Linked DNA regions of Homo sapiens: all the other regions are linked to region 1. The links are contacts of gene promoters, found by promoter capture Hi-C in blood cells and fetal thymus (Javierre and others, 2016). All regions are on one chromosome and are shown on one strand. The core of a region is centred on a gene start or on the middle of the fragment in contact, and the rest is flanking DNA. Distances in the headings are between cores, read along the strand shown.

Region 1 (4,211 bases), core at 677-3,176:
CAATAGTCATAATTATGCTAGTATGACAGTATGAATTAGGTGACTCAGCCAGGCACATACAGGAGTTCGGAGTGGGGACAGTGGAAGCCCACAAAACTCCATGTTTGGGCCATCAGTAGACACTTGGTCTGAGAAACACAGTAAAATGTCTGCCCGGGTAGTCACGATCATTCTAGTATGAGGTAGACAGGAAGCAGAGCAGGGCCAGGAAATGGAAGGGGCCACCCAGGCCCTCAGGAGTCCCTGACAAGGGAAGGTCCCTCCATGCTCTCTGAGGGTGGCGGGGCTCCAAAGATCCTGGCCAGGAGCCCTTTGTTGGAGCGGGCCTTGTCCTGGGCAGTTGCCAGGCGAGCCCGTTCACGTCCCCCTGGCCGTGCTGCTTTACGGGCCCTCAGTTCCTGCTCAGTAGGACGCTGGGCAAATGTCCAGGAGCCATCTGGGCGAGCAGGGTCCCCATCGGCCGCAAGAAAGCGTTGTCCCCGTTCCACACTTTGAAGATAGAAGTCGGTCTCACGCTTGGCTTGAGCAACCTCCGCTCTCAAGCGCTGCCTGCGCACCTGGCGCTCAAAGGCGAGGTGCTCGCTGAGGTGGGACCAGGTGAAACGGTGCAAGTACTGTGGGCAGAAAAGAAGAAAAGATCAGGATAGTGCAGATTAGGGAGAAAGATGAGACAAGGGGACAAGGCCAATGAGAGGCCATGGGGATACTTGGGCCAGAGTTGGGGAGAAGGGAGGGTGAGAGGTGTGGCAGAAAGATCTATCTTCTCACCTTGAGGTTCCAAAGATCATAACGGAAGGGGCTGCGCCTGCGGGCACCCATAGGCGTGTTGTGTAGACTGGCCGCCACGCGCTTGGCTATGCGCTTGTCACGGAACTCCACCCATCCCTCGGTGTAGTCCTTGGTGTAGGACCGCTTTTTTCCTCCGGCAGCTGCTGCTGCCTTCTTCTTGCGTCTCACGAACCGGTCTGCGCGCCAAAGACAAAGACCCGTCCAGGACGCCTATGCAGCACTCACTCAAAAGCACCTCCCACTGCCCGCAACGTTCTTCACATCTGCCAGTGGGAGTCCCACCTGAAGAGTTTTTGCCCAGGAGGAAGGGAACTGTAAATCGCACCCTTTCCTCTAGCTAACTCAATTCTTTCCTTAATTGTCCACTCCTTAATCTGGCCAGCCCTGAACGCTGCTTAAAACCGGCACAAGTCCTCAGCCTCAATGTAAAATTGAGGGTGGAAAGAAGAGGGGCGGTTGATCAAATAGTTTCTTGACCTAGGCAGCAATGCTAAAGAGTTATGTTCAGTTTTGTAGAAAAGCTGACGAGACTTTTACTCAGGTTGTATTCATGTAACAAACCAGTAAACAGGTCCGGAAAGAGAGGTGAACAGAGCCGGGATAAGAACACAAATAGTAACAATCCGAGAACTAAAGAACCACCAGACACACTGCGCTACCCACTCTCCCCATATCCCCTCCGCCCGCCCACCCCAGCATCCTCACAGACTGATTCACCAGCCAGGAGCCAAGCACCGCACTCCCCACCCCCAAAATCCAGCAACTCGTGCCTCAGCCTCGCGCAGCGAAGCAACAGGACATGCATGCTTGCACCCCGCCAGCGAGCGACAACCTCCTCCTGTCACCGTCAGGGCCTGCATACTTACCCTCAGCCTGAAAGAAGACGCGTCCGACCTCGCCATAGGCGCTGAGAAGGTTGCGGACGTGCAGGGGCCGGAAGCGCGGCGGGATATGGCCCAGGTACACAATACCTGGCACTACCCGTTTCTTGCTGCCACAGGCCGCTTCTTCGGATTCCTCCTGCTCCTCCTCCGCATCTAGTGTCTGTTCTGTCCCTTCCAGCGGCTCTTGCTCCGTTGCGGCCTTCTCCGATTCCTCTGCCTCCATGTTGACTGACACGAGCGGCACGACGGCCGTAAAGTGCCTTGCCAACTGACGCAAAACGCGTGCGACGGCCTGAGACGAGGGGGCGGGTCCAAGGTGGTGATGACAAATGAAAGGAAATGATTGGGCAATACAGTCGGGTCCAGGGGAAGGCCGAGGGGAGAGGGAGGAAGTGGTGTGTCAGGTCGGAAGCCTGATTCAGAGCGTGGAAGCGGGATGGGAAACTTGGGTTAGGCTCAGATTCCCGGTCAGATCTCCAACTCAGGACAGGCAGAACCAGAAAAGGCAGATCCCCAAATATAACCTACCCTATAGAACGCCTTGTCGAGACGCTAAAAGGCGGGTTGATGCCGGCTTTTTAGGGAATTTTGCAGAACAATTTTAGAGAAGTTTCTATGTGTTCTAGCGATCAAAATAGCATTTTATTCAAGGGCCCCGGGTGCGATTCCAGCTGAGGAATGACTCACCTTTTAAAGTTTATAAATTTCATTTAAAAATTTTGAGTTTTGAGGTTTTAACTATTTCTGGAAATTTACCTCGGAATTTTGAATATTTTAAAATTTAATTTTGAAAACAGTTCAACTTTGGAAATTTAATTAGATTTAATTTTTGAAAATTTAAGTTGTGAACTTTCAGTTTAATATTTTACATTTGATTTTGTGAATGTCTGAAAATTTAAATGTGTGACAATTATTTGAAGAATTTGTTTGGCATCTATTACACGTGTGTATTGATACATTATCCATATGCATACTTATGTTGCAAATACTTGTCAGAGGCGCACAAGCCTCCAATTCTGGCGACCCCCCGGCGGCGCGCTTATTTCTGCTCTCCCTGGGTCTGTCCTCAGATTCCCTATCAGATCACAAACCACTTTTCCTTCTATGACCTACGCAACCGCAGAACGGACCGGGCCACGGCGGTCCTGCTCCCACCAGGCGGCCTGCGGACCATCCCTAAGCCAAGCTCAGGGCAGTTTTCCCCGCGCGGGCTCGGGTCCTCAGTCTCTTATCGTCGCCCGAGGGCGCGACCAGCAGGGGGCGCCGTCCCCACCCTTGAGGCGTTTCAGTTCTTCCCATCGGCGCCAGCGACAAGCTGACTGCAAAGGACAGTGCTGGGAACCGCGTACAAGTAATCCGGTTAGCTTTCTGGAAGCAGCCCGGGGCGAGTTTGATGACTATCAACATAAATCCGTCCTTGCTGCGGCCTGACAAAATTTCCCATCTCGCTCCAAGAGCGCAGAGTAGCCCAGAGAATGGAAGCAGGGAGTAAATGTGTCCACTATTAAAATCAGAGATGACAGTTTTTGCCAGTCCCCAAGTATATTTCTAAAGTAACAGGGCCCTGCACTCTTTCATGGAGTGTCTAAAAGTCTAATAATAGACTTCTCGAATTCAAACACGCCTGTTTCATTAACTTTATTGAAGAGAACTTTCTGTCAGGTAGGTGTCCACTGCTCCTTTTTTGAAGAGGAGCGGGGTACGATGAGAGCGATAAACTCCGTCTACTGCTATTTAATTATAAACACTGACATCTTCAAAACACAGTACAGTTAATGAAATGAGAACACGTGTTGGGGTGGCTTTAAAAGATCTGGAGCTAGGGGAGGGGCATGATGGATGCAAGAGTGTCGGTAAGTTGTGCCAGTGTGGTGGCTAATGGTAGCTATTAGCTATTTTCTCTACTTTGTATATATTTGAAATTATCATTAATAAAATGTTTATTCACACCAAGTATCAATATAACAGGGGGTGCTAAAGGACCGTGAAACCGACAAAAAAAAAAAAATGAAGCCTTGGGGCAGCGTGTTCTTCCCGTTCCCCACATTCCTCATGATCCCTTCTCAACTTGGTGAAAATCGAGTCCCACTCAACTGTCTGTGAAGCAACCCTTGTTAGCAATTTTCAGGGTGGATTATTTTCCTTCTCTGAGCGTCTTACAAATTCCTGAATAAGCAAGCTGCACATGCGTTCTCCAAGTTTCCTTATTTCAGGCCCAGAAGAGACACTTTTAAAAATGGAACTCCTCCGAGCCGGATTCGAACCAGCGACCTAAGGATGACCACATTCAAACCCCTACAGTCCTCCGCTCTACCAGCTGAGCTATCGAAGGATGTCATTACCCTCGTTTTGGATTCTTTAGGATTTACCTATTGCTTTTGACTATCCTGTATTCTTGTTCATTTTGAAAATATAGGGAAACGTGAGGAAATTTTCTAGGATATTAGAAATGTTCCAAAATGTTCTAAAATGTTCTTATCTGAGTAGGGATACTGACTATACAAGTATATGAACAATTCTCTTGAACATTTAAAATTT
Region 2 (4,182 bases), core at 343-2,842, 1.2 Mb before region 1:
TTTTCCCACAAAATGTATGCAGTATATGGCATTTTACAACTTCGCGTTGTTTTAATCAATTTCCCTTATTTAAAAAGTTTACAAAAGTGATTTTAATGTCTTTATTATTTCTTCTCCTGAATTCTGCCTGCTACAGTGTTAACCAATTCCCTAGGAATTTATTAATCAACCAGATTTTTTAAATAATTCATCTTTTCCCTGCGGATTAAGTACCACCTTTAACATTATACATACTCGGAACTATTACCAAAATTCTATTCTGTCTATAATTTAATCAAGGTGGTTTGCCAAAGGGAATCTATGTTCACGGTTAAAAGCTTAGAAAATTCACATTAGGAAAAATTTTAAAAGCAGTAATTTATATCTGCTTAATATTCCATCATAAGAATTTTCTAGGTCCACTTTCACAGTATTTCTAGTACTTAGCAATAATGTGCTAATTTTCTTTTCCTAATTTAAAGGAGAACTGTACAAAATTTACTTCCTGAGGAAAATGTAGAATTGAAGCGCTTTGTCACAAAGGATGCAGATTTTAAGGTATTTTGATAACTGTTACTACATTTTCCTCAAAAGTTTTATTCCATTCACTTTTGCCAGCAGTAACTGCTGTGTATGTTTACCAGCATTGAGTATTATGGTTTTTAAATTCTATGTTACATTCAGAATTTACTTTTAGTTTTGTTGATTGAGTCTTGAGTTAATGAACTAGTTACCCAGCAAGATTTATTGATTTGTTTATAAGTAATAAATTGTCATCTTTAATATAAGCTTGTTTAGGCCGGGCGCGCTGGCTCATGCCTGTAATCCCAGCACTTAGGGAGGCTGAGGCAGGCAGGTCACTTAAAGTCAGGACTTCGAGACCAACCTGGCCAACATGGTGAAACCCCGTCTTTACTAAAAATACAAAAATTAACTGGGCGTGGTGTCACATACCTGTAATATTAGCTACTCAGGAGGGTGAGGCAGGAGAATCTCTTGAACCTGGGAAGCGGCGCTTACATTGAGCCGAAATCACACCACAGCACTCCAGGCTAGACAACTGAGTGAGACTCCATCTCAAAAAAAAAGAAAAGAAAAGAAAAGAAAAAAACAATAAGAAACCTAAAAATTTTATTTTTTCGTGTAAAAACTGGCCACAAAGAAATTATTTGACTTACCTTGTTTGACTGTAAGTCGTAGGACCTCCGTTCCAGAGAGGGCCCTGCCCCATATACAAAAGAAATACTACACAGAGCGCCCAAGAAGAATCTAGACAGGCCTGGCTGGGTTTCCCCACTCAGTCTCTTAGCATTAGATCATACACATTATGTCCAGTCATATTTCTACATAGCTGTCCATACTTTGTTGAACCTAAGCATAAAAATGGACAATTTCCCCTGTATCTTTAGGTCTTCATTCTGAAGGCTTCTGCGTACATGTTAAATAAATGTGTATGCCTTTTCTTCTATTAATCTGCCTCTTGACAGTGATTTTCAGTGAAGCTTCAGAGTACATAGGGGAAGCTTTCCCTGTGCCCCAACAAGTTCAATCATATGGTCAATGATTCAATCAATCCTGCCTATATAATAAAACCCTCATAAAAGCTCTGGATACCAAGGTCAGGGAGTTTATTGGTTTGTGAACACATAGATATCCTAGGGAGGTGACTCCTGGTTCCACATAGAGATGGCACAGAAGCTTTGCTTTCAGGACCCTTCCAAGCCTTGCCCTATGCGTCTCTTCATCTGACTGGTCCTGATTTGTATTCTTTATGATAAAACTATAATCATAAGGACAGCACTTTCTATATTCTATGAGTCATTCTAGCATATTATTGAACATGAAGGGGTAGTGGGAATCCCTGGATTTGAAGCCAGTTGCTCAGAAGAGCAAGTGGCCTGGGAACCCCACTTGCAGCTGGCGTCTGAAGTTGGGACAGTCTTGTTGGGAAATGTGCCCTTTAACTGGTGAGGTCCAGCTAACTCCAAATAATCAGTGCCTGAATTGAATTGAAGTACATCAGTTGGTGTCCAAATAACTAGAAAGAAATTCATGTACGTAGTTAAAAATTTAGGAAATTCAGATTAGGCAAACTGAAAAAATATCTATAAATCACAGTCCGAAGATTATTCTATTAACTTTATGATACCTATCTATTGCAGTAGTCGTCTTTTCATATATTTAATATTTTTTACATGCATGGATACACTGTGGAATTCTTTTAACTCTAAAGAAAGTGTAATCTTGACACAATTTAAAATGTAATTTCTTTGTTTTTTAGTGTTTCCATGTAAATATTTACTTTGGAGAATAGTGAGTTCAGCCTCTGCAATCAAACAAACCTAGACTGAAATTGTGGCTTCGTTGCAGATACTTTTGCTGTTTTTGTCTTAATTTCCTCATCTTTTTAATGAGAGTAAAGGCAATCAGAGTTACTCCACAGGATACTTTAGGAAATAATGGAGATAATTGAGAAAAATGGCTAGACTAGCTTAGTAGATCTCACTAGTCACATATAGAAAATTTATATTTACTGTTTATTAATATTTTATTGATATTCAATTACTTAACTTTTTGTATATATTTAAATTCACATTTATGCTATTTGCACTAGTCCAAATAAAGTACTTAACAATTTTTATGTCATTTAAATTTCTAATATATTTGAATAAATGCTTAGAGTTTTATGTTTTGATATAACTTCTAAACAGCTATTAGAATATATTAATAGCTAAAATAAAAATCAAATATAATCAAATGAAGGCTTTTTTTTTTTTTTTTTTTTTTTGAGACAGAGTCTCGCTCTGTCGCCCAGGCTGGTGTGCAGTGGCTTGATCTCAGCTCACTGCAACCTCCACCTCCCTGGTGTAAGCGATTTTCCTGCCTCAGCCTCCTAAGTAGCCATGCCACCAGGCCCGGCTAATTTTTTGGATTTTTAGTAGAGGTGGTGTTTCACCATGTTGGTCAGGCTGCTCTCAAACTCCTGACCTCGTGATCCACCCACCTCGGCTTCCCAAAGTGCTGGGATTACAGGCATGAACCACCGAGGCTGGCTGAAGACTCTTTTTGAGGCCTGTTCTTCATTTCACACTTCAAACATCATCACAATATCAATAAAGAGAATATGTTTATACATACAGTTAAAATGAAGACATACATAGTAAACAGATTTAAGATATGAAAGAAAAACATTGGAAAACCAAGAAGATACCTAAGAGAGTAGAAAGTTTGTCAAAGTTTGTCGTTAATTTTGTCAGGAAAACCTGGTTTTCCTGGAAGCCTCATGTAGGGGAGGAAAAAAATATTTTCCCTCTACACTTCTGAGTTCTCAGCTAGAGCCCTTGTGACAAAAGACAGATTAAGAAGAGAAAAACAAACAAGTTTATTAACATGGGTACAGCACATGTCTCATGTGAGTGTACCCAGAAATGAGTAACTAAAAAATGTGACTTAAAACTCCAGTTTATATACAGCATCTTTAATAAGATCAATAAGTTTTTAGAGAAATTAGAAGACAAAGGAAAAGGATTTTGAGTTTTTAGGAGTGACAAATTGTGGGAAGGCAAATATATACGAAATTAATGGTAGATAAAGGCTGGTTAGTAAAGTTGTTATGCAGATTGCTCTGGTGCCCTCTCCAGGCTGATGAGAGTCTGATGTTGTCTCTGGTGATTAATTTTTGCCCTTTCTGGTAGAGAGGGGAGGAGAGACACCTCCGTACATTTATGTCCTGCTTTTAGGCAAATAGGGAGAGGGCAGAGAGTTTTCTTGTATCTGCTTCTTCTTAGTTGCCCTCAACTCAAATATTCTTTATGTCAATGTGGCATATTTTGGGGTGGTGTGTCTTGCCACCCTTCACTCAAAAACAGCTAATCTCTACCCAAAAAGAGAATCCTGGCTGGGCGCGGTGGCTCACGCCTGTAATCCCAGTACTTTGGGAGGCCGAGGCGGGTGGATCACGAGGTCAGGAGATTGAGACCATCCTGACTAACACGGTGAAACCCCATCTCTACTAAAAACACAAAAAATTAGCCGGGCATGGTGGCGGGCCCCTGTAGTCCCAGCTACTCGGGAGGCTGAGGAAGGAGAATGGCGTGAACTCGGGAGGTGGAGCTTGCAATGAGCCGAAATCATGCCACTGCACTCCAGTCTGGTTGACAGAGCAAGATTCCATCTCAAAAAAAAAAAAAAAAAAAAAAGAGA
Region 3 (4,031 bases), core at 459-2,958, 1.1 Mb before region 1:
TTTTGCAGCTAGATGGTAGTGATGGTTGCACAACAATGTGAATGTAACTAACAGTACTGAACTGAACACTTAAAAACAGTTAAGATAGGCTGGGAGCAGTGGCTCACACCTGTAATCCCTGCACTTTGGGAGGCCGAGGTGGGCGGACCCCGAGGTCAAGAGATCGAGACCATCCTGGCCAACATGGTGAAACCTCATCTCTACTAAAAATACAAAAAAAATTCGCTGGGCGTGGTGGCATGTGCCTGTAATCCCAGCTACATGGGAGGCTGAGGCAGGAGAATCGCTTGAACCCAGGAGGCAGAGATCGTGCCACTGCACTCCAGCCTGGCGACACAGCGAGACTCCATCTCAAAAAAACAAACAAACAAACAAAAAAATGATTAAGATGCTAAATGTTATGTGTATTTTATTACAATTGTTTTAAAAAGGTCCATATTTAAATCTCATTCCGAAAAAGGTAAGTCTTGAGCAAGCCCTGACTCTACCAGAACCCAGTTCACAACCACATCCTCAAACACCCAACGTTCTTTTTTTTTTTTTTTTTTGAAGAGACAGACTGGAGCACAGCGGCACAATCATAGCTCACTGTAACCTCGAACTCCTGGGCTGAAGCAACCTTCCACCTCAGCCTCTGGAGTATCTAGGACTATAGGTGCAAGCCATCACACTCCACTAATTTTTTTTTATTTTTTTAATTGAGGGAAAGAGGGATGGGGTGGGTGTTCTTGCTTTGTTGCCCAGGCTGGTCTCCAACTCCTGGCTTCAAATGATCCTCCCACCTCAGCCTCCCCTAAAGTGCTGGAATTAAAGGCATAAGCCACCAAGCCTGACCTATCCCATATTCTTAAAACGTACCCCATGATCCTGCTTTTCTAAAGAGAAGGCCACACATGCACAAAAATGCATGCAAGGAACGACCAGCCTGGCCAACATGGCCAAACTCCATCTCTACTAAAAATACAAAAATTAGCTGAGTATGGTGGCATGCGCCTATAGTCCCAGCTACTCGGGAGGCTGAGGCAGGAGAATCACTTAAATCCAGGAGGCAGAGGTTGTAGTGAGCTGAGATCGCAACACTGCACTCCAGCCTGGGTGACAGAGCGAGACTCCGTCTCAAAAAAGAAAAAAACAACAAGTATGAGAAGATTCATAAAAAGATGTTTATGCTTGTTTAAATAAGGCTGAAGAGAAATGGAAAGAAGGGTAAGTGTAAAGTGGCGGTTAAGAGAAAAGTCTGCTGGGCAAGAAACATCTCATTCATCTATAGAAGGGTCTTGCAATTCCTGAGTAGATGCATGTGACTAGTGGTGTGCTAGGCAGGGTCTAGCCCAAGTGAAGGAGATTGGGGCAGCTGCCATGAAGCAGGCAGATCCTGGAAAGGTGGGATATTACCTAGGACTCGACTCTGACATTTGCTACAGCATCACCTGGTCTCCTGATCTCCCTTTCTGAGCAAAGCAGGTCTATAAAAAGAGAAAGAAGTTATCAGGAATAACCTAGTGCTAGTTCTGCTCACCCAGGCCAACTCCCATAAAAGTCATTTCTGCACAATTCAGCTGCAAATAAACCTTCTCTCAATATATAAGCACCATCCAAATCCACCACCCGATACAAAGCAGAGTAAAGGCAAAATGCTCAACAAGGTGGCAGGACCAATATAAATTTAAACATGAATGGAAGAGTGGATATGTTTACAATATGTTAGCTCATCATACAACACACAAAAAAATTTTTCTTTTCTGAGACAGGGTCTTGCTCTGTCACCCCGTCTAGGCTCCGTCGCAGTCACAGCACACTGCAGCCTCAACCTCCTGGGCTCTAGCAATCCTCCCACTTCAGCCTCCTGGGTAGCTGAGACTACAGGCACACACCACCACGCCCGGCTAATTTTTTTTTCTTTTTTTTTGAGACGGAGTCTCGCACTGTCGTCCGGGTTGGAGGACCAATATAAATTTAAACATGAATGGAAAAGTGGATATGTTTACAATATGTTAGCTCATCATACAATACAAAAAAAATTGTTTTCTTTTCTGAGACAGGTCTTGCTCTGTCACCCCGTCTAGGCTCTGTCGCAGTCACAGCACACTGCAGCCTCAACCTCCTGGGCTCTAGCAATCCTCCCACTTCAGCCTCCTGGGTAGCTGAGACTACAGGCACACACCACCACACCCAGCTAATTTTTTTTCTTTTTTTTTGAGACCGAGTCTCGCACTGTCGTCCGGGTTGGAGTGCAATGGCGTGATCTCGGCTCACTGCAACCTCTGCCTCCCGGGTTCAAGCAGTTCTCCTGCCTCAGCCCCCCGAGTAGCTGGGATTACAGGCACCCGCCACCACGCCCGCCTAATCTTTTGTATTTTTAGTAGAGATGGGGTTTCGCTATATTGGCCAGACTGGTCTCGAACTCCTGACCTCGTGATCCGCCCGCCTCGGCCTCCCAAAGTGCTGGGATTACAGGCATGAGCCACCATGCCCGGCCGCCCAGCTAATTTTTAAATTTTTTTGTAGAGACAGGGTTTCGCCACGTTGCCCAGGCTGGTATCAAACTTCTGAGCTCAAATAATCCACCTGCCTTGGCCTTCCAGCGTTGGGATTACAAGTATAAACCATGGCACCCAGCTAAAATGTGATTGTTAATCTATGTTCATCTGACCTAAAGAAATGTGACACTTTAGGAAAAAACAGACATTAGCTATTTAATAAAACAAAATTTTTCTGTGTAATAGTGTTATATACAGGGAATGAAGGAAAAATATGTTTCTTCAGTTATATGTTTACTGTATATATATATGATTATGTGTGTATATATTTATATATAAAGCTATATATATAGTTAACTGTACATATATAATTGTGTGTGTGTATATATATGTGTATGTATATATGATACATACACACAGTTATTCACTGCATTGTTTGTGGTGGTGAAAGATTAGAAACAACCTAGTGTCTATCACCAGGAAATGAGTAAAGCCCAAGTGTTCATCACCAGGAAATGGCTTAAATATATTATGGTATATCCATATACAAATGAAGACACTGTATATTAATATAGAAATCTCTTAAGATAGAGTGTTGTGAAAAAAGTTGGAAAGTATGCCACCTAACAAATAAATAACAGTGAAAATAGCCGGGTGTGGTGGCTCACACCTGTAATCCCAGCACTTTGGGAGGCCAAGGTGGGCAGATCACCTGAGGTCAGGAGTTCAAGACCAGCCTGGCCAACATGGCGAAACCCAGTCTCTACTGAAAATACAAAAATTAGCTGGGCCCAGTGGTGCACGCCTGTGATCCCAGCTACTCAGGAGGCTGAGGCAGGAGAATCGCTTGATCTCTGGAGACAGAGGTTGCAGTGAGCCGAGACTGCACCACTGCCCTCCAGCCTGAGTAACACAGCCAGACAACCTCTCAAAAAAAAAAAAAAAATATTCTATCATTCTTTTTTTTGCAACAGCTTCCAGGAAGTCAGCTTTCTTCTCCTTTCACTAGCTTTTCTCTTCTTCCCTCTACCATAAGCACATACATACAAGATTACTTTCAATGTCAGTAAAAATATTCTTTTAAAAGCCATTTTTTTTTTTTTTTTTTGAGATGGAGTCTCGCTCTGTCACCCAGGCTGGAGTGCAGTGGCGCGATCTCGGCTCACTGCAAGCTCCGTCTCCTGGGTTCACAACATTCTCCTGCCTCAGCCTCCTGAGTAGCTGGGACTAAAGGCGCCCGCCACCACGCCCGGCTAATTTTTTGTATTTTTAATAGAGACAGCACTTTGGGAGGCCAAGGGGGGGCGGATCATGTGTTAGCCAGGATGGTCTCGATCTCCTGACCTCGTGATCCGCCCGCCTCGGCCTCCTAAAGTGCTGAGATTACAGGCGTGGGCCACCGCGCCCGGCAAAAGCCTATTTTGAAAGAGGTTTCTTATTTTCTTATTTTTTTTTTCTGAGACAGGGTCTCACTCTGTCACCCAGGCTGGAGTGCAGTGGCGCGATCTCGGCTCACTGCAACCTCCGCCTCCCGGGTTCAAGTGATTCTCC
Region 4 (4,119 bases), core at 832-3,331, 1.3 Mb before region 1:
AAGTCTTAACAGTGGCTGCCCTTAGAGACAATAGATGATAACAAATGTTTCCTACTCAGATCTTAGTTAATCTCTTTAGGATTGGGAGGGTCTGGAAGAAAAAGATCTAGCTATGTTAATAGAGATTCTTTACAGACACAAATTTTCCCACACACAAAAAAACAATTTTGCAGGGCCATTTCAAAATATGGCAAAGAAACATGTTTTTTGGTGTAAAATATTTTGATTTTCTTCCTTGTCTCATAATGTTTTATGCCAGAGTCAGGTTGGAAAGTAAGTCATGATATATAGGGTTAAATAAAACCCATCTGATGAGAATTTATGATTTGTAGGGTATGACTCCCCAGACCCCTTAGATGGGAATTTGGGCAAGATAAAAATCAGAGTTTAGTCCTCAATCTTTATAGTCAAGGATAATTCTTTCTAAACAATTATGTAAATAATTGATTTTTTAACCTTGTCTTTTTTACCTTCTTATATACTCAACTTGTTTACTCTGGCATGCATATTCCCATTACAATGCTCTATTCCCCCAAAATATATTTTCTTTTAGAGAGCCTCCCTCTGTTATTTACGTTGGCAGTGTAGAACTACTTTTTCCATGATTGAAACAAATCTTATCATATGTCACATTTGTTAGTGATAGCTTCATGTGATCCATATGGATGAGATCTATTTTCAGAAGCCAACTATTTCTTCTGGAAGAGACTTTGGAAATCACTTTTAGTTGAGGAAAAAGAGACCAGGAAGAACAGACAATCCAGTAAATTACATAAAATGAGGTGATGGCAGCCAGGGTGAGTAGTGGATAGAACTTAAACTTTCTAATTCCTCAAATTATTAATCCTCAGTTGCCCATTTTATTCTTTTGGATGCCAACTAAAGAGATTTTCAAACCTCAGAATTTCTTAGACACACCTGGAGACTCCTTGTGTGGGAGACTATTTCTCTGGCCAAGAACTGGTCAGGTTTGGAGGAAAAGGGTACTGAGACTAGCTTTCCTCTCTCCCCACCTCCTTTCCACATTCATCACCGGAATCATTCAGCATTTTATCAACTCTTTATAACTTAAATTCTTTCTCTATTTAAATACAGGAGTAAGGAGAAAGGGGAGTTGGAGCGACCTAGGAAGGGTACTATAATGAAAACAGGAATGGACTTTCAGAATAGATAGTGGCCTATCTGGAGGAGGAGCCAATTTCTAGTCTTTTCTCAGTTCCAATTCTGTTGCTGTTAAACTTCCCAAGATAGATAAAAATTCCTAGGAAGAATTTTCATGATTAATTGACTTCTTTCTCCTGGAGAATCTGCATTTAGTCAAATAAAGGAGATTGAGAAAAAGCCCCTCTCTGTGCATTTGCTATTTCCCAAATAACTTTAGTGGGAAGTAATCAGCATAACAATGCGGCATACTTTGGGATGATATTTCCTGGACTCCTTCAGTATACATTATAGAGGCAAGAGGCCAGGCACGGTGGCTCACACATGAAAATCCCAGCTTTCAGAGGCCAAGGTGGGTGGATCACTTGAGTCCAGGAGTTCCAGACCAGCCTGGCCAACATGGTGAAACCCCTTCTATGAAAAGCACAAAAATTATCTGGGCATGGTGGTGCATACCTGTGGTCCCAGCTACTTGGGAGGCTGAGACATGAGGCTTAAGCTTGGGAGGTGGAGATTGCAGTGAGCCGGGATCATGCCACTGCATTCCAGCCTCAGCAACAGAGTGAAGGCAAAAAAAGGAAAAGAAAGAAAAACTCCTTGAATTACATTACACAGTAAAGGAAAGCTTCCCCTTCACCCTCTGAAGGTTTGCTGAAAATCACTGACTAAAGGCAGATGAATAGAAGAAAAAAAAATTATTTGATCACAGTTGTACGTGACATGGGAGCCCTTCAAAATGAAGGCCTAAAGATACAGGGGAAATTGTCCATTGTTTTTAAGGTTCTATAAAGTATGGACAGCCTTGTAGAAATGAATGGACATGAAGGGTAGGATCTAATGATAGTAAACAGAGTAGGGAAACCCAGCAAGGCCTGTCTGTCCAGATTCTTCTTGGCCTCTCTGAGCAGCATTCCTTCCTTCTGGGTATGGGGCAGGTCCCTCTCTGGAATAGGGGTCTTATGACCTACAGTCAAACAAGGTAGGGCAGATAATTTCTGACCATAAATGGCCAGTTTTCATACAAAAAGCCTTGGGGAATAGGGTGGGTGAGGGGAGCTAGAGTAATATTTGTAGGTTTTACGGCTGGCTTTGGGGAAAAAGGATTCTGGTTTTTATGACCTGCCTTGGGGAAGAGAGATTCTAGTTTCTGTGGCTAACCTTGAGGGAGAATGATAGATCAGAGACGGAAGGGCAGGAGGTCAGGGAAAAGCTTCTGCTTCTGAGGCTGCTGCTGAGGCCTTCATTTTGGGTTATAGTTTCTGAGCCCCAACAATATATCAAAACATCACACTCTGTCAAAAATGTATACAATTATGATTTGTCAATTAAGAATAATATTAATAATAAAAAATAGTGTTACAGCTCTTTTAGAATTTGTCTAGCAGGCCTTCTGGTTTTTGCTGGGAAGTCCCCACCCCCACAAAGAATAACATTAATAAAAAAGTAAGAAAATGTAACATAAATAGAAAAGAACTGGCTTATTTACCCAGGTAACTACTCAATCCACAATGAACAACTCCAAATACCTTTCACCACTTTTACCTCATAGCTGTGAGAACTGAATTTTTTGTTTTTTCTTTTAGTTCACTGTATCTGTTTACTTAACTAGCAGAAAATAACTCTTCAATGCCTGATGTATGTGAGGCCTGATGCTTTATCCAGAGGGGCCAAGTGAGGAATGAATTATTTTCAGCTGAGAATTTAGAAAGTTGGGAAGGCCGGGGCATTTGATCTGGGCCCTGATGGCAGAAAGAGCAGCTTGGTGAAAAGCTTGTCATGGATACAGGAGTCTTTGTTAATGTCCAGAGATCTCAACTTCAAGGATGAAGGGCTTCATGAGATCTCTACTTTAGAGGTGAAGGACTTGATGAAGTCAACAGACATTTTTTTTTAATAGTCTGTACCATGATATATATATTTTATTAGCTCTCAGTATTGAAAATTTATAATATTTCACATTAAGCTGCATATACTCTTGAAAAATTGGAAGTCACACTGTCCTTGTGCTTGCATTGCTAGAAGGGAGAAATCAGTGAAATCAAATTGCACAGGTTTTGTCTTCAGTTCTCAAGTTACCACTGGTCCTGTTAGTTTCCATATTAGTTGGCATTTATCAATATGCTTGTGCTATGGTTGTTCTTACAGCAGAATTAAGAAAACAGTGAAATATATCTTGGTCAAGTATCTCTATCAAAACTGGAAAAATGAAATATGCCAGAAGTCTGGGTGTTTCAAGAAAAATAGCAAATAGCACCTCTCTTTATAGAGATAAGGCGTGCTTTTTAATATCCAGCTGTTTTTGCTCTAATGTGCTGGGCCTTTGTTAGCAACTGACTTTTAACTTCTGGTTTAAGGAATATCATAACTGTCACCTTATCTGCAAATTAAGCTAAATGTAGATATTTTATAAAGGAGAACTTGGAATAGAAAGTCGGGATGAAAGCATGGAAAATGGTCTTAAGTGCTGTTATGGACTTCATTGTGTTCCCCCAAAACAGACCAGGTGCAGTGGCTCGCGCCTGTAATCCCAGAACTTTGGGAGTCCAAGACCAGCCTGGACAACATGGTGAAACCCTGTCTGTACTAAAAACACAAAAATTAGCTGGGCGCTGTGGCAGGTGCCTGTCTGTAGTTCAGCTACTCAGGAGGTTGAGGAAGAAGAATCACTTGAACCCAGGAGGTGGAAGTTGCAGTGAGCCGAGATTGCGCCACTGCACTCCAGCCTGGGCGACAGAGTGAGACTCTGTCTCAAAAAACAAAACAAAAGAAAACAACTTCATGTCGAAGTCCCAGCCCTCAGTGTGGTTGGTATTTGAAGACAGGGCCTTTAAACAGATAATTAAGGTTAAATTGAGTTGTAAGTGTGGGGACTTAATCTAATAGAACTAGAAAGCACGATCGTATTATTATTTATTTTAGGGTATAAAGCATTTTGGCTTTTTTTATTTGTTTATTTCT
Region 5 (3,837 bases), core at 789-3,288, 1.2 Mb before region 1:
AGTGGTGCAATCTCTGCTCACTGCAACCTCTGCCTCCCACGTTCAAGCGATTCTCATGCCTCAGCCTCCCAAGTAGCTGGGACTACAGGTGCACACCACCGCACCCAGCTAATATTTGTATTTTTAGTAGAGACGGGGTTTCACCATGTTGGCCAGGCTGATCTCAAACTCCTGAGCTCAGGTGATCCGCCCACCTCGGCCTCCCAAAGTGCTGGGAGTACAGGCGTGAGCCATTGCACCAGGCCTTTTCAAGCAGAGATTTTATTGGGATGCTTGCATCTGAAGGATATATTCACAATAACAAAACTTATAAGAAAATAGTAAAGCTAGAACTCATTGTGTTAATTATAGTGGAAGATGTGCCTGGACTTAGAACTGACCACAAATTGTTAATCAGAAATTGCTTTAGTAAGTAACAAATCAAAGTAAATGAAACAGCCTGGTTACTAAGGAATAGTTTCATAATTTTGAATGGGATTAAAACTTGTCTCTCTTACTGTTGGTGGAATCCTGTCTTAAACAGCCACACAGGCAATCTAGCATGAACTAATAGTCCTTCCTTGGTTGGTTTTGGGCTGCAACTCATTGATAATCATCATGCTTAGTTTGCCTTTGTTCCAATTCCAAGCAGGCCAACCACTTTCCCATGTACATATTGTAACCACCCAAGGGGTTAACCTTGCCCGCTGCCTAGACAGAGCTGATTCATCAAGACAGGGGAATTGCAATAGAGAAAGAGTAATTCACACAGAGCTGGCTGTGCAGGAGACTGGAGTTTTATTACTCAAATCAGTTTCCCTGGGCATTTGGGGAGCAGAGTTTTTAAGGATAACTTGGTGGATGGGGGGAAGCCAGTGAGCCAGGAGTGCTGAATGGTCAGAGATTAAATCATAGGGAGTTGAAGCTCTCTTCTTGTGCTGAGTCAGTTCCTGGGTGGGGGCTACAGGATCAGATGAGCCAGTTAATAGATCTGGGTGGTGCTATCTGACCCATCTTGAGTGCAGCGTCTGCAAAATATCTCAAGCACTGATCTTAGGAGCAGTTAGGGAGGGTTAGAATCTTGTAGCCTCCAGCTGCCATAATTTTTAATCTTGTGGCTAATGTTAGTCCTACAAAGGCAATCCAGTCCCAAGGCAAGAAGGAGGTCTGCTTTGGGAAAGGGCTGTTACCATCTTTGTTTAAACTATAAACTACAAACTAAGTTTCTCCCTAAATTAGTTCAGCCTACACCCAGGAATGAACAAGGATGGCTTGGAGGTTAGAAGCAAGACGGAGTTGGTTAAATTCCATCTCTTTCTCTGTCTCAGTCATAATTTTGCAAAGGTGGCTTCAATATCTGTCATTAAATTGCTGGAATGTTACTTTATTTTGCATTTGACTATTTTTTTTTTAAATTTTTATTTGAGATGAAGTCTCGTTCTGTCGCCCAGGCTGGAGTGCAGTGGCACGATCTCTGCTCACCACAACCTCCACCTCCCAGGTTCAAGCGATTCTCCTGCCTCAGCCTCCCGAGTAGCTGGGATTACAGGCGCGTGCCACTGCACCTGGCTAATTTTTTGTGTTTTTAGTAGAGATGGAGTTTCACCATGTTGGCCAGGCTGGTCTTGAACTCCTGACCTCAGTTAATCTGCCCGCCTCGGCCTCCCAAAGTGCTAGGATTACAGGCGTGAGCCACTGTGCCTGGCCCGATTATTTAATATCTGAGAAACATAAGAGGCTAAGAAAAGCTTTGAAAGAATGTCATCTATTTTATTTATGCTTATATTATGGCCAGGTTATATTTCTTTTTCTTTTTTTTTTTTTTTTGAGATGGAGTCTCACTCTGTTGCCCTGGAGTGCAATGGTGTGATCTCAGCTCACTGCAACCTCCACCTCCCGGGTTCAAGGGATTCTCCTACTTCAGCCTCCCAAGTAGCTGGGATTACAGGCACGTACCACCACGCCCGCCTAATTTTTTAAAAGTTTTTAGTAGAGACAGGGTTTCTCCATGTTGGCCAGGCTGGTCCCGAACTCCTGACCTCAGGTGATCCACCTGCCTCGGCCTCCCACATTGATGGGGTTACAGGCATGAGTCACCGTGCCTGGCCAACCAGGTTATATTTCTATAGCCTCTCCAAATTCTGGGAACGAACCCCACTTGAGGCCTACAACACTAAATTCCCACATCCCCAAAAGATGTACTCAAATATTGGAGCAGTTAGCACAGTCCAGACTATCAAATGTGTTGACCTGAAATCTATTTTCTGTATGGACAAGAAGACTACAGACTGAGAATTTTAATAGAAGATATTGCCATTCATAAGAATTGTGCTGCAGGAAGGAAAAGAGACGAGAAAACCTACAAGCTTAACCAAGAAAATGGATCTAACCTTCCATTCAGTGGCCCCCAGATCTTCCTGTTCCTTTCCATGCAATGAACAAACATAGGAGCTAGAACCTGGTTCCTTGGTGTAAAACAAACAAACAAACAAAAAAACAACAAAAAAAAAACAGCCAAAACTGAGGATCTAAGGTCATCTTGACCTTTGTGAGATCACCACAAAGAAACAAATGCCATTTTGTCCACTGTGTGATCACAAACAAGTCAGTGACACTCATTATACCAGTTTCCTTAACAGCAAAATAGGGGTGAAAATCAGCCTCATTTTATCAGGAAGTTGTATGATTGAATAAGACAATGAATAAGATATATGTAGGACAGGCATGGTGGCTCATGCCCGTAATCCCAGTACTTTGGGAGGCCGAGGTGGGCAGATCACTTGAGGTCAGGAGTTCAGGACCAGCCTGGCCAACATGGTGAAACCTCGTCTCTACTAAAATTACAAAAATTAGCTGGGCATGGTGGCACATGCCTGTAATCCCAGCTACTCAGAAGGCTAAGGCAGGAGAATCACTTGAACCCGGGAGGCAGAGGTTGCAGTGAGCCAAGACTGCGCCACTGAACTCCAGCCTGGGAAACAGAGCGAGGCTCTGTCTCAAACAAACAAACAAACAAACAAAAAAGACATATGTAACAGGGAAATAATTATCACCATGCATTAAGAGGAAAAGAATAATATAGAAATTACTGCAAATTATATTTATAAGTGAGGAAAATCACTCAGAGCCAGTAATTTTACCTCTATATGACCCCATCAGCCAGCTTAAAGGAAATTAACTTACTTAACCAAAAAAACATTTATTGAGCACTTAATATATGAGAGACAATATATTAGCATTGAGAATACACGCTGAAAATAGCCTGCTAAAATTCCTGTTCTTATGGTACTTTGAGGTGGGATTAAATTCCATAACATGTCATCACCTTGATAAGTGGTTTAGATAAAAATACAGCAGGAAAGGGGATAGGGAGCTGGAGATTGCATTTTTAAGGAGGGCATACAAATGAGGTCTCATTGAACTGTCATTGGCATAAACTGGTGAGAGAGTATATTGCTACCTGGGGGAAGCTGTTTGGGGCAGAAGGAACTATGAGTGCAAAGTACCAGAGGCAGGCTCTGCTTAGCATGTTCTGGGAACAGCAGGTTAGGCCATAGTGGTGGGAGCAAAGACAGCCATGGGGTGGGTAAGAAGTTTTGAGCTTCATCGTTCACCTTCTTGGCTCTTAGCCCAAAATGATTCCTACATAGAGCCTCAAAAACCTGCACATTTTCTAAATAGCTGCTGAAAAAATGCACCACAAAATAAAAAAGAGAAAATGGCTCTGCCCCTGCTAAGATCTAGATCTAGGAAAGCAAATGATATTCTTGTACAATGATGCATAAAGGGATAAATTCTAATAAAGGAGTATTGGTCTCAGCTGTACCCCATCACCAAGACCAGTGCATTAAATGCAAT
Region 6 (4,200 bases), core at 1,044-3,543, 1.2 Mb before region 1:
CCAGTTTCCAGGTTCTTGACACCTTCGTAAGAAAGAATTCAGGGAGGAGTCAGAATGAAGCCAAAGGCAAGAAGCTTTTATTGCTAAGCAAAAGTACACACTTAGGGAAGTGTGGGTGAGCTCATGAGAATGAGTCGTGCCCAACAGAGTTTGAGTTTTCTATTTTTATGGGCTCTTGTAATTAGAGGGTGGACTAATCATGAGGTTTTCTGGGGGAAAGGCGAAGGTTTCATAAAATTGAGATGCCACCCATTTTTATATTAAATATGGGCGTACTCGATCTGTCAGGGCGCTGGTGGGTGTGTAATTTCGTATGGTAATTAGCATATAATTAGGTCTTGGGTAGGGCATGGGTCAAATCCAGCGCCATGTTGGACCCAGACGGTTTCAGACAGCTTAGCCACCATCCTGTTTGTTAGGGTCTTATCAGCCCAAGTTCTTTCTTGTCCTTGTAGCTAATTTTAACAGCTCCTTTTTTGCTGTTATGTGAAATTACTGCTTGATGTTTCTCCTATGACTACCCAGCATTCCTATCAAATAGAGATGAGATTTATCACCTTCCTTGTTCCCCTGGCCCTCTCACTCCACTAGCATGAACCCTTCAGTGACTCAGGTGCCTGATCTCAGCCTCTTTCAGAAAATAATCTGAGTGGAAAAACATTTTTATAGCCGCAAGCCAGGACTCCTCCCCTCCCCTCCACCAAATGCCCTATTTTCCTCTCAAAGGGGTTTAGGTCTGTGTTGCATGGGCCTTCTCTGTGGGGAAAAGCAAGAGAGATCAGATTGTTACTGTGTCTGTGTAGAAAGAAGTAGACATAGGAGACTCCATTTTGTTCTGTACTAAGACAAATTCTTCTGCCTTGAGATTCTGTTAATCTATGAACTTACTCCCAACCCCGTGCTCTCTGAAACATGTGCTGTGTCAAACTCAGGGTTAAATGGATTAAGGGCGGTGCAAGATGTGCTTTGTTAAACAGATGCTTGAAGGCAGCATGCTCGTTAAGCGTCATCACCACTCCCTAATCTCAAGTACCCAGGGACACAAACACTGCAGAAGGCCGCAGGGACCTCTGCCTAGGAAAGCCAGGTATTGTCCAAGGTTTCTCCCCATGTGATAGTCTGAAATATGGCCTCTTGGGAAGGGAAAGACCTGACCGTCCCCCAGCCCGACACCTGTAAAGGGTCTGTGCTGAGGAGGATTAGTATAAGAGGAAGGCATGCCTCTTGCAGTTGAGACAAGAGCAAGGCATCTGTCTCCTGTCCGTCCCTGGGCAATGGAATGTCTCGGTATAAAACCCGATTGTACGTTCCATCTACTGAGATAGGGAAAAACCGCGTTAGGGCTGGAGGTGGGACATGCGGGCAGCAATACTGCTTTGTAAAGCATTGAGATGTTTATGTGTATGCATATCTAAAAGCACAGCACTTAATCCTTTACCTTGTCTATGATGCAAAGACCTTTGTTCACGTGTTTGTCTGCTGACCCTCTCCCCACAATTGTCTTGTGACCCTGACACATCCCCCTCTCGGAGAAACACCCACGAATGATCAATAAATACTAAGGGAACTCAGAGGCTGGTGGGATCCTCCATATGCTGAACGCTGGTCCCCCGGGTCCCCTTATTTCTTTCTCTATACTTTGTCTCTGTGTCTTTTTCTTTTCCAAGTCTCTCGTTCCACCTTACGAGAAACACCCACAGGTGTGGAGGGGCAACCCACCCCTTCATTCTCTCTTCACTAGAAAACCAGTGAGGAAGTGGAAGGAGGAGACTGAGCACCTGCCATGTAATATGCAGTGGTGTACCTCACTTAATGTGCAGCAGGAAGAGCCGCAGACAAAACCCCTCAGACACCGAGTTAAAGAAGGAAGGGGTTTATTTGGCCTGGAGCATCGGCAAGACTTCTGTCTCAAGAACCGAGCTCCCTGAGTGAGCAATTCCTGTCCCTTTTAAGGGCTCACAACTCTAAGGGGGTCCACATGAGAGGGTCGTGATCAACTGAGCAAGCAGGGGGTGCATGTTTGGGGGCTGCATGCACCAGTAATCAGAACGGAACAGAACAGGACAGGGATTTTTACAATGCTTTTCCATACAATGTCTGGAAACTATAGATAACATAACCAGTGTTAGGTCAGGGGTTAATCTTTAACTACCAGGCCCAGGGCGTGGCGCCGGGCTGTCTGCCTGTGGATTTCATTTCTGCTTTTTAGTTTTTACTTCTTCTTTCTTTGGAGGCAGAAATCGGGCATAAGACAATATGAGGGGTGGTCTCCTCCCTCATTCGCTCACCTCATTAAAAGTGATGAGGCTGTCTTTGTCTTACAGATGAGAAGACTGAGGCATAAATCTGTGACCCTTCACCTGTATGTTTCAATTTCATGTCTATGTTTATCAGGATGCTTTTTTGTTTGTTTGTTTTTGCAGAGGGTGGGGAACAGGGTCTTGCTCTGTCACCTAGGCTGCAGTGCAGTGGCACGATCATAACTCACTATAACCTTGACCTCCTGGGCTTAAGTGATCCTCCTACCTCAGCCTCCCCAGTAACTAGGACTACAGGCCCACACCACCACACCTGGCTAATTTTTTTATTATTATTTTTTGTGGAGATGAGGTCTCGCTAGGCATGAGCCACGAGACCTATTCCTCGTTTTTGAAAGGTAAAGGATCCGACACTTTAGAAGAAAGGTAAAGGAGGAATTTTTAGAGAAACCAGTTCAAGAGAAGCTGTTAATGGTACTTACAGGAAACATAAGTGTTTGAACGACAAGGCTGGAAAAGAATTAATGCACCATGGGACAATTATCATAACGAGAGTGGTAAGGAGATGGAATGGAGAGTTGGGGGGAAGGAGAAATCAGCAGTTTCCCAGATCTGGAATTACAACAGGGCCCCAAGTTCCCATCCCACCATCAGGAAAGATACCTGGTGAGAACCTCAAATAGACCTGCTGATGTTTCTTCAACACTGCCTTGCACGTCCCTTTCCTCGTGTTCATGTGGGGACCTGCAGGTCATTAAACTACAAATCAGTCTTACCTGCTTCATGAGGAGCTTTTTCCCAAGAGACATTTAGCAAAGAGCTTGGGCGATATCCTTAGCGCTGTAGTGGTGGACAGAGCTTTCCTCCGAGCAGTCTCATGGGCAGAGCTTTCCTCCAAGCAGTCGGAGAGCTTTCCTAAGCTCCTAACAGCTCCTAAAGGAGCTGTTAAAATTAGCTACAAGGACAAGGAAGAGCTTGGGCTGATAAGACCCTAATAAACAGGATGAGGGCTAAGCTGTCTGAAACCGTCTGAGTCCAACGTGGCGCTGGATTTGACCCATGCCCTACCCAAGACCTAATTATATGCTAATTACCAAACGAAATTACACACCTTCAGAGAGCTTTCCTCTGACTGCTTGGAGGAAGCTCTGCCCACCACAAATGCAACGAGTAACCCTGGCACCCAGTTGCGTTTCCGCGGCTTGCTAAAGGCCTGCTCTCCAAGGCTGCCAGGCCTTGCTGAGTTTGCACAAAGAAACGCGGCCCGCGGTAGCAGGCGTCCGGCTTCCTGGGGCGCGCCGCCTGGTGGAGACTGCGGGGAAGGAGCCACAGGAGCTGGTAACTCGACAGCTGATTCTTGTTTGCTGAAAAGGTGCTTTGAAAAGTGACTCTCACGTTAGCCTTTGGTTGCTGCTCTTCTTACACATCACGAGTAAGGCCCTCCTCCCCTCAGCGAAGACTCTACAAATCAAGAGGCCAGGATGAGGTTGGTTAAGGATTGGTTAGTGTCTGCATGACGGGTATAGGCCAGGAGGGAGGCTGAAAATGCACTGCGGGTCTATGGTCATACCACTCTGAACGCGCCCGATCTCGTCTGAAAATGCACCGCGGGAGATTCACAACTGTCAATACGTGGGACAGGATTGTAGCCGGCAGGTTCGAACCTATGCAGACAGGCTTAATTATATTTTCATCACCTTAAGCATCCAGAGGCTGCACCACATTGTCAGCTAATCACTTCATGTTGTGTTGTCTTGCCGGTTGTATCTGTTTTAAAGCTAAGTAAATTTAGGGATGGGGGTTGTTGTGGACTGAACTGTGTCCATCAAAATTCCTGTGCCAAACCCCTAATCTCAACGTGACTGTATTTGGAGATAGGGCATTTAAGGAGGTAATTAAGGTTGAATGAGGTCAAAACGGTGAGACCCCAATCCAAAAGGAT
Region 7 (3,755 bases), core at 1,119-3,618, 1.2 Mb before region 1:
TAAGAGGTAGGGTCTCACCATACTGCCCAGGCTGGTCTTGAACTCCTGAGCTTAAGCAAACCTCCCATCTCAGCCTCCCAAAGTGCTAGGATTACAGGCATGAGCCACCATGCCCAGCCATGGTTTTACTTCTGAGTTTAAAAAAAATGTTATTATATATGAACCTTCTGAGACTTACATTTCTAAAATTCAACCAGGTACTGTGTGTACCTCAATAAATGCATTATTTTGACCATGAACATGTAGTTGCCTCTAGTATTTTTATCTATTAAAAATGGCATTTTTTCCATTCTCATATGTCTCCTGTTGCATGTGTGCAAAATATTCTTTCATGTAAACAGCTAGGAATCGAATGGTTGGGTCACTGGAGTACACTTACTGGATAAAAAATATTATCAAAAACCTTCAGCAAATACAATTTGATGTGGAAGAGTTCCCACACTGATTCTTGGCAAAGACCAAAATACTTTTAAATATGCCACTCCTAAGTGTTTAAAATGAAGACACTCATTTTGATTTCCTGAGTTGGGGGTGGGGGAAAACAATGGAGAACAGCCCTTCTCCTCCTCTATTTTTTTTTCTTTTAACATTTCTTCCAATTACTAGAGATACAGTAAACGCAAGTGACACAGACAAGAAAACATGGAGCAGACCCTAACAGAAAAAGTAGGGAATAGAAACTATGTTCATAAATAGGAATTCCACACAAGAGAATTATGGGAATGAGTAAGACAGCAAGATTCCTCCAAAAAACCTGCACTGCCAAGAATTTTCCCAACTAGAACACTCACCAGAGAAAACGGTGGCCAAGTTTCAAACTGCCCTCGCAGTGTCGGGATTGGCCATTGACATCAACTCAGCCCGATTGACGTGTACGGTGCTGTAAACTGGGTTCAAACTTTTTTCTACTGCCTTTCTATCTTAATATTTAGCAAATCCAAACTGGGGACAAGGGAGGAGAAACAGCACCACTCTCAAAACAAACAAGTCGATTTGTACGTTTGTGTGTGTGCCAACTGCTTCATTACTAAAGTACACATGAAGTTTAGGGACAGAGCGCCGGAAGCACTGTGGATATTTTACCAGTGACACTTAAGTATTATATTTTCTTTGGGGTCAACAGGAACTGAATTTTCCCTTTACTAGGTTTGTCTGATGATAAACCTCATCCTTCTTCAGATATAAAATTGTCTCAAGCGTTGCTGCAACATGCAGTACACTGCAGTGCTAATTAATTTCTTTTCTTTTTCTTTCTTTTTTGAGACAGAGTTTCGCTCTTACTGCCCAGGCTGGGGTGCAATGGCCCGATCTCGGCTCACTGCAACCTCCATCTGCCGGGTTCAAGCGATTCTCCTGCCTCAGCTTCCCGGGTAGCTGGGATTACAGGCGTCCGCCACCACGCCCAGCTATTTTTTTGTACTTTTAGTAGAGACGGGTTTCACCATGTTGGCTAGGCTCGTCTCGAACTTCTAACCTCAGGTGAGCCACCCGCTTCGGTTTCCCGAACCGGGATTAGAGGCTTGAGCCAAAATTAGTTTCTAACAAGGCTAAAGGAATCTTGGAAATCGTCTTTGTAGCAAGTAAGAAATACCTGCTGTAAGAACAGTGAGTGCCAGTTCTCTTTGGGAAGACTGAGTGGCTCTGAAAAGAGCCTTTGGGGTGTGGGCCGAGACTGACCGAACGTTCCGCGGTGGGCGGGCTCACTTGGAACTGGTGTACTTGGTGACGGCCTTGGTGCCCTCCGACACCGCGTGCTTGGCCAGCTCCCCTGGCAGCAGCAGGCGCACGGCCGTCTGGATCTCCCTGGAGGTGATGGTCGAGCGCTTGTTGTAATGCGCCAGGCGGGAAGCCTCGCCGGCGATGCGCTCGAAGATGTCATTGACGAAGGAGTTCATGATGCCCATGGCCTTGGACGAGATACCGGTGTCGGGGTGGACCTGCTTCAGCACCTTGTACACGTACACGGAGTAGCTCTCCTTGCGGCTGCGCTTGCGCTTCTTGCCGTCCTTCTTCTGGGCCTTTGTCACTGCCTTCTTGGAGCCTTTCTTCGGGGCAGGAGCGGACTTTGAGGGCTCGGGCATGACTGGGAGTAACTGCCGGAAAATTGGAGGAAAAAAACAGGAAGACGGTAGCTCTGTCAACCTACCGCTTATTCACTGCTTCTTAACGCAAGTGGGGTAGAGAATGAAGTTGTGCGTTTAACCAGTGGTGAGTCCTGGAAACGTATATTAACTTTGTCCAATCAAAATAAGTGTTTTTCAAAACCGCAATCCCATTGGTTAAAGCGAAACTGTAATGTTAGCCAATAGCACAGCTTAGTTTTCGTGCCTCTGTTGACTATAAGTAGCGGAGCTTTAGCGTTACGTCAGTCTCAGGAACGTTACTGATTGAATTTTTTACGTCATGTCGGGACGTGGCAAGCAGGGCGGCAAAGCTCGCGCCAAGGCTAAGACCCGTTCTTCAAGGGCGGGTCTTCAGTTCCCAGTGGGCCGAGTGCACCGACTGCTCCGCAAGGGCAACTACGCTGAGCGGGTCGGTGCCGGAGCGCCGGTGTACCTGGCGGCGGTGTTGGAGTACCTAACCGCCGAGATCCTGGAACTGGCTGGCAACGCGGCCCGCGACAACAAGAAGACCCGCATCATCCCGCGCCACTTGCAGCTGGCCATCCGCAACGACGAGGAGCTCAACAAGCTGCTTGGTAAAGTGACCATCGCCCAGGGTGGTGTCCTGCCCAATATCCAGGCCGTGCTGCTGCCTAAGAAAACTGAGAGCCACCACAAGGCCAAGGGCAAGTAGCGGGGCTGGAGCAGTTCATTACTCATACCTCGGTCCAAACCAAAAAGGTTCTTTTCAGAGCCACCTACTTTTTCACCAAGTAGAGCTGTGTTCAGTTTTATCTGATAGTCGAGTCATTTTGCAATGGCACTGGAATGCTGTATGGAGATGAAGCAAAACTAAACGGCTTTTACACCACATTGTTTTGAGATAGAAAGTAGACATTGAAATGTTTACGGTACATCAAGAAATTTAGGCGCGGCAGCTCGCGCCTGCAATACAGCTGAAACAATAAGAAAAGTGAGGCAAGAGAATAACAAAGGGAGCTGAAAGTTAGAGGGCAGAATAAGTAAAAGCAAAGGGCAGAAGTAAGGTAGATGGGCGGGTGAACAAGAAGCGAGATAACAAGCAGTGAACCTTTTGCAGCCGAAACAAAAGAGATAATGTGAGCAAGGACCTCGTGGCCGGCAAGATCTGGAACAAACCAGTTTAAGAGGCAGCTCTTCAGAGATGGGCATGCGTATTAGAGAGGAAAAGTATCCTTAACAAAAGCCCGTATGATAATCAGCTACTTAAGGTTCATGCATATGGGCTACATATCATGCATATATTTAAGATTATAAGATAGAGGCACAAGCCACAGAGGACAAAGTAAGCAACAAACCTATCAATAAAAGGGCAGATGCTGGCTATAGATTAGGCAGCACTGGGAACAGAAAACATACACACACGCACGCACACACATAAAATGACTCAAACTACAGCAAGCTGACGCTGATCTCACCTCGCAGAGGTCAGTCCGCTCTCTCCCACCCCCGAGAGTGTAATACTCTGTTTACTAAACTTTTGCTGCTTTGCTTTGCTATCTGTGTGTGTGTCGTCCAATTTCTACCGGGCACCAAGAGCCTGGAACTGTTTGGCACCATCCGGTAAACAGAACCGCTTTGGGAAGCCGAGGCGGAAGGACCGCTAGAGCCTTG

The links. The method cuts DNA at HindIII sites, captures the fragments that hold promoters and counts their contacts. A CHiCAGO score of 5 or more calls a contact.
Region 2: a fragment that was not itself captured here is called in contact with the fragment with the promoter of ABT1 in region 1 in 1 of 17 cell types (total B cells); the score reaches 5.6 in total B cells.
Region 3: a fragment that was not itself captured here is called in contact with the fragment with the promoter of ABT1 in region 1 in 1 of 17 cell types (M0 macrophages); the score reaches 7.0 in M0 macrophages.
Region 4: a contact is called between a fragment that was not itself captured here and the fragment with the promoter of ABT1 in region 1, in 2 of 17 cell types (M0 macrophages and non-activated CD4 T cells). The highest score is 7.9, in M0 macrophages.
Region 5: a fragment that was not itself captured here is called in contact with the fragment with the promoter of ABT1 in region 1 in 1 of 17 cell types (M1 macrophages); the score reaches 5.4 in M1 macrophages.
Region 6: a contact is called between a fragment that was not itself captured here and the fragment with the promoter of ABT1 in region 1, in 1 of 17 cell types (M0 macrophages). The highest score is 5.4, in M0 macrophages.
Region 7: a contact is called between the fragment with the promoter of H2AC15 here and the fragment with the promoter of ABT1 in region 1, in 1 of 17 cell types (M0 macrophages). The highest score is 5.8, in M0 macrophages.

What each region holds. Positions count from the first base shown.
Region 1 is chr6:26,594,668-26,598,878 of GRCh38, reverse strand. It overlaps ABT1 (activator of basal transcription 1), which reads right to left and starts at 1,926. Exons shown (of 3, transcript NM_013375.4): 1 at 1,656-1,926; 2 at 769-965; 3 at 1-614. The coding sequence starts at 1,896. The coding sequence ends at 234. TRY-GTA6-1 (tRNA-Tyr (anticodon GTA) 6-1) reads right to left here and starts at 4,005; the gene lies at 3,917-4,005. RefSeq lists enhancers at 1,638-2,077, 2,635-2,794, 2,895-3,044. The HindIII fragment of the contact is 8,276 bases long and covers 1-4,211 here.
Region 2 is chr6:27,819,325-27,823,506 of GRCh38, reverse strand. No RefSeq gene overlaps it. Among named protein-coding and RNA genes, the nearest start is that of H4C11, 2.7 kb to the left of the region's middle. The HindIII fragment of the contact is 175 bases long and covers 1,505-1,679 here.
Region 3 is chr6:27,697,032-27,701,062 of GRCh38, reverse strand. All of the region lies in intron 1 of LINC01012 (long intergenic non-protein coding RNA 1012), which reads right to left. Among named protein-coding and RNA genes, the nearest start is that of LINC01012, 5.0 kb to the right of the region's middle. The HindIII fragment of the contact is 6,157 bases long and covers 1-4,031 here.
Region 4 is chr6:27,895,960-27,900,078 of GRCh38, reverse strand. It overlaps the pseudogene RNU7-26P. Among named protein-coding and RNA genes, the nearest start is that of TRX-CAT1-7, 4.5 kb to the left of the region's middle. The HindIII fragment of the contact is 585 bases long and covers 1,789-2,373 here.
Region 5 is chr6:27,798,031-27,801,867 of GRCh38, reverse strand. No RefSeq gene overlaps it. Among named protein-coding and RNA genes, the nearest start is that of TRQ-TTG3-3, 4.0 kb to the right of the region's middle. The HindIII fragment of the contact is 618 bases long and covers 1,730-2,347 here.
Region 6 is chr6:27,771,986-27,776,185 of GRCh38, reverse strand. No RefSeq gene overlaps it. Among named protein-coding and RNA genes, the nearest start is that of TRQ-CTG6-1, 17 kb to the left of the region's middle. The HindIII fragment of the contact is 4,434 bases long and covers 77-4,200 here.
Region 7 is chr6:27,836,988-27,840,742 of GRCh38, reverse strand. It overlaps H2AC15 (H2A clustered histone 15), which reads left to right and starts at 2,368. Exons shown (of 1, transcript NM_003510.3): 1 at 2,368-2,863. The coding sequence starts at 2,404. The coding sequence ends at 2,796. H2BC15 (H2B clustered histone 15) reads right to left here and starts at 2,174. Exons shown (of 1, transcript NM_003520.4): 1 at 1,633-2,174. The coding sequence starts at 2,081. The coding sequence ends at 1,701. RefSeq lists enhancers at 1,923-2,132, 2,463-2,552, 2,623-2,732, 3,003-3,052, 3,123-3,212 and 2 more. The HindIII fragment of the contact is 16,643 bases long and covers 1-3,755 here.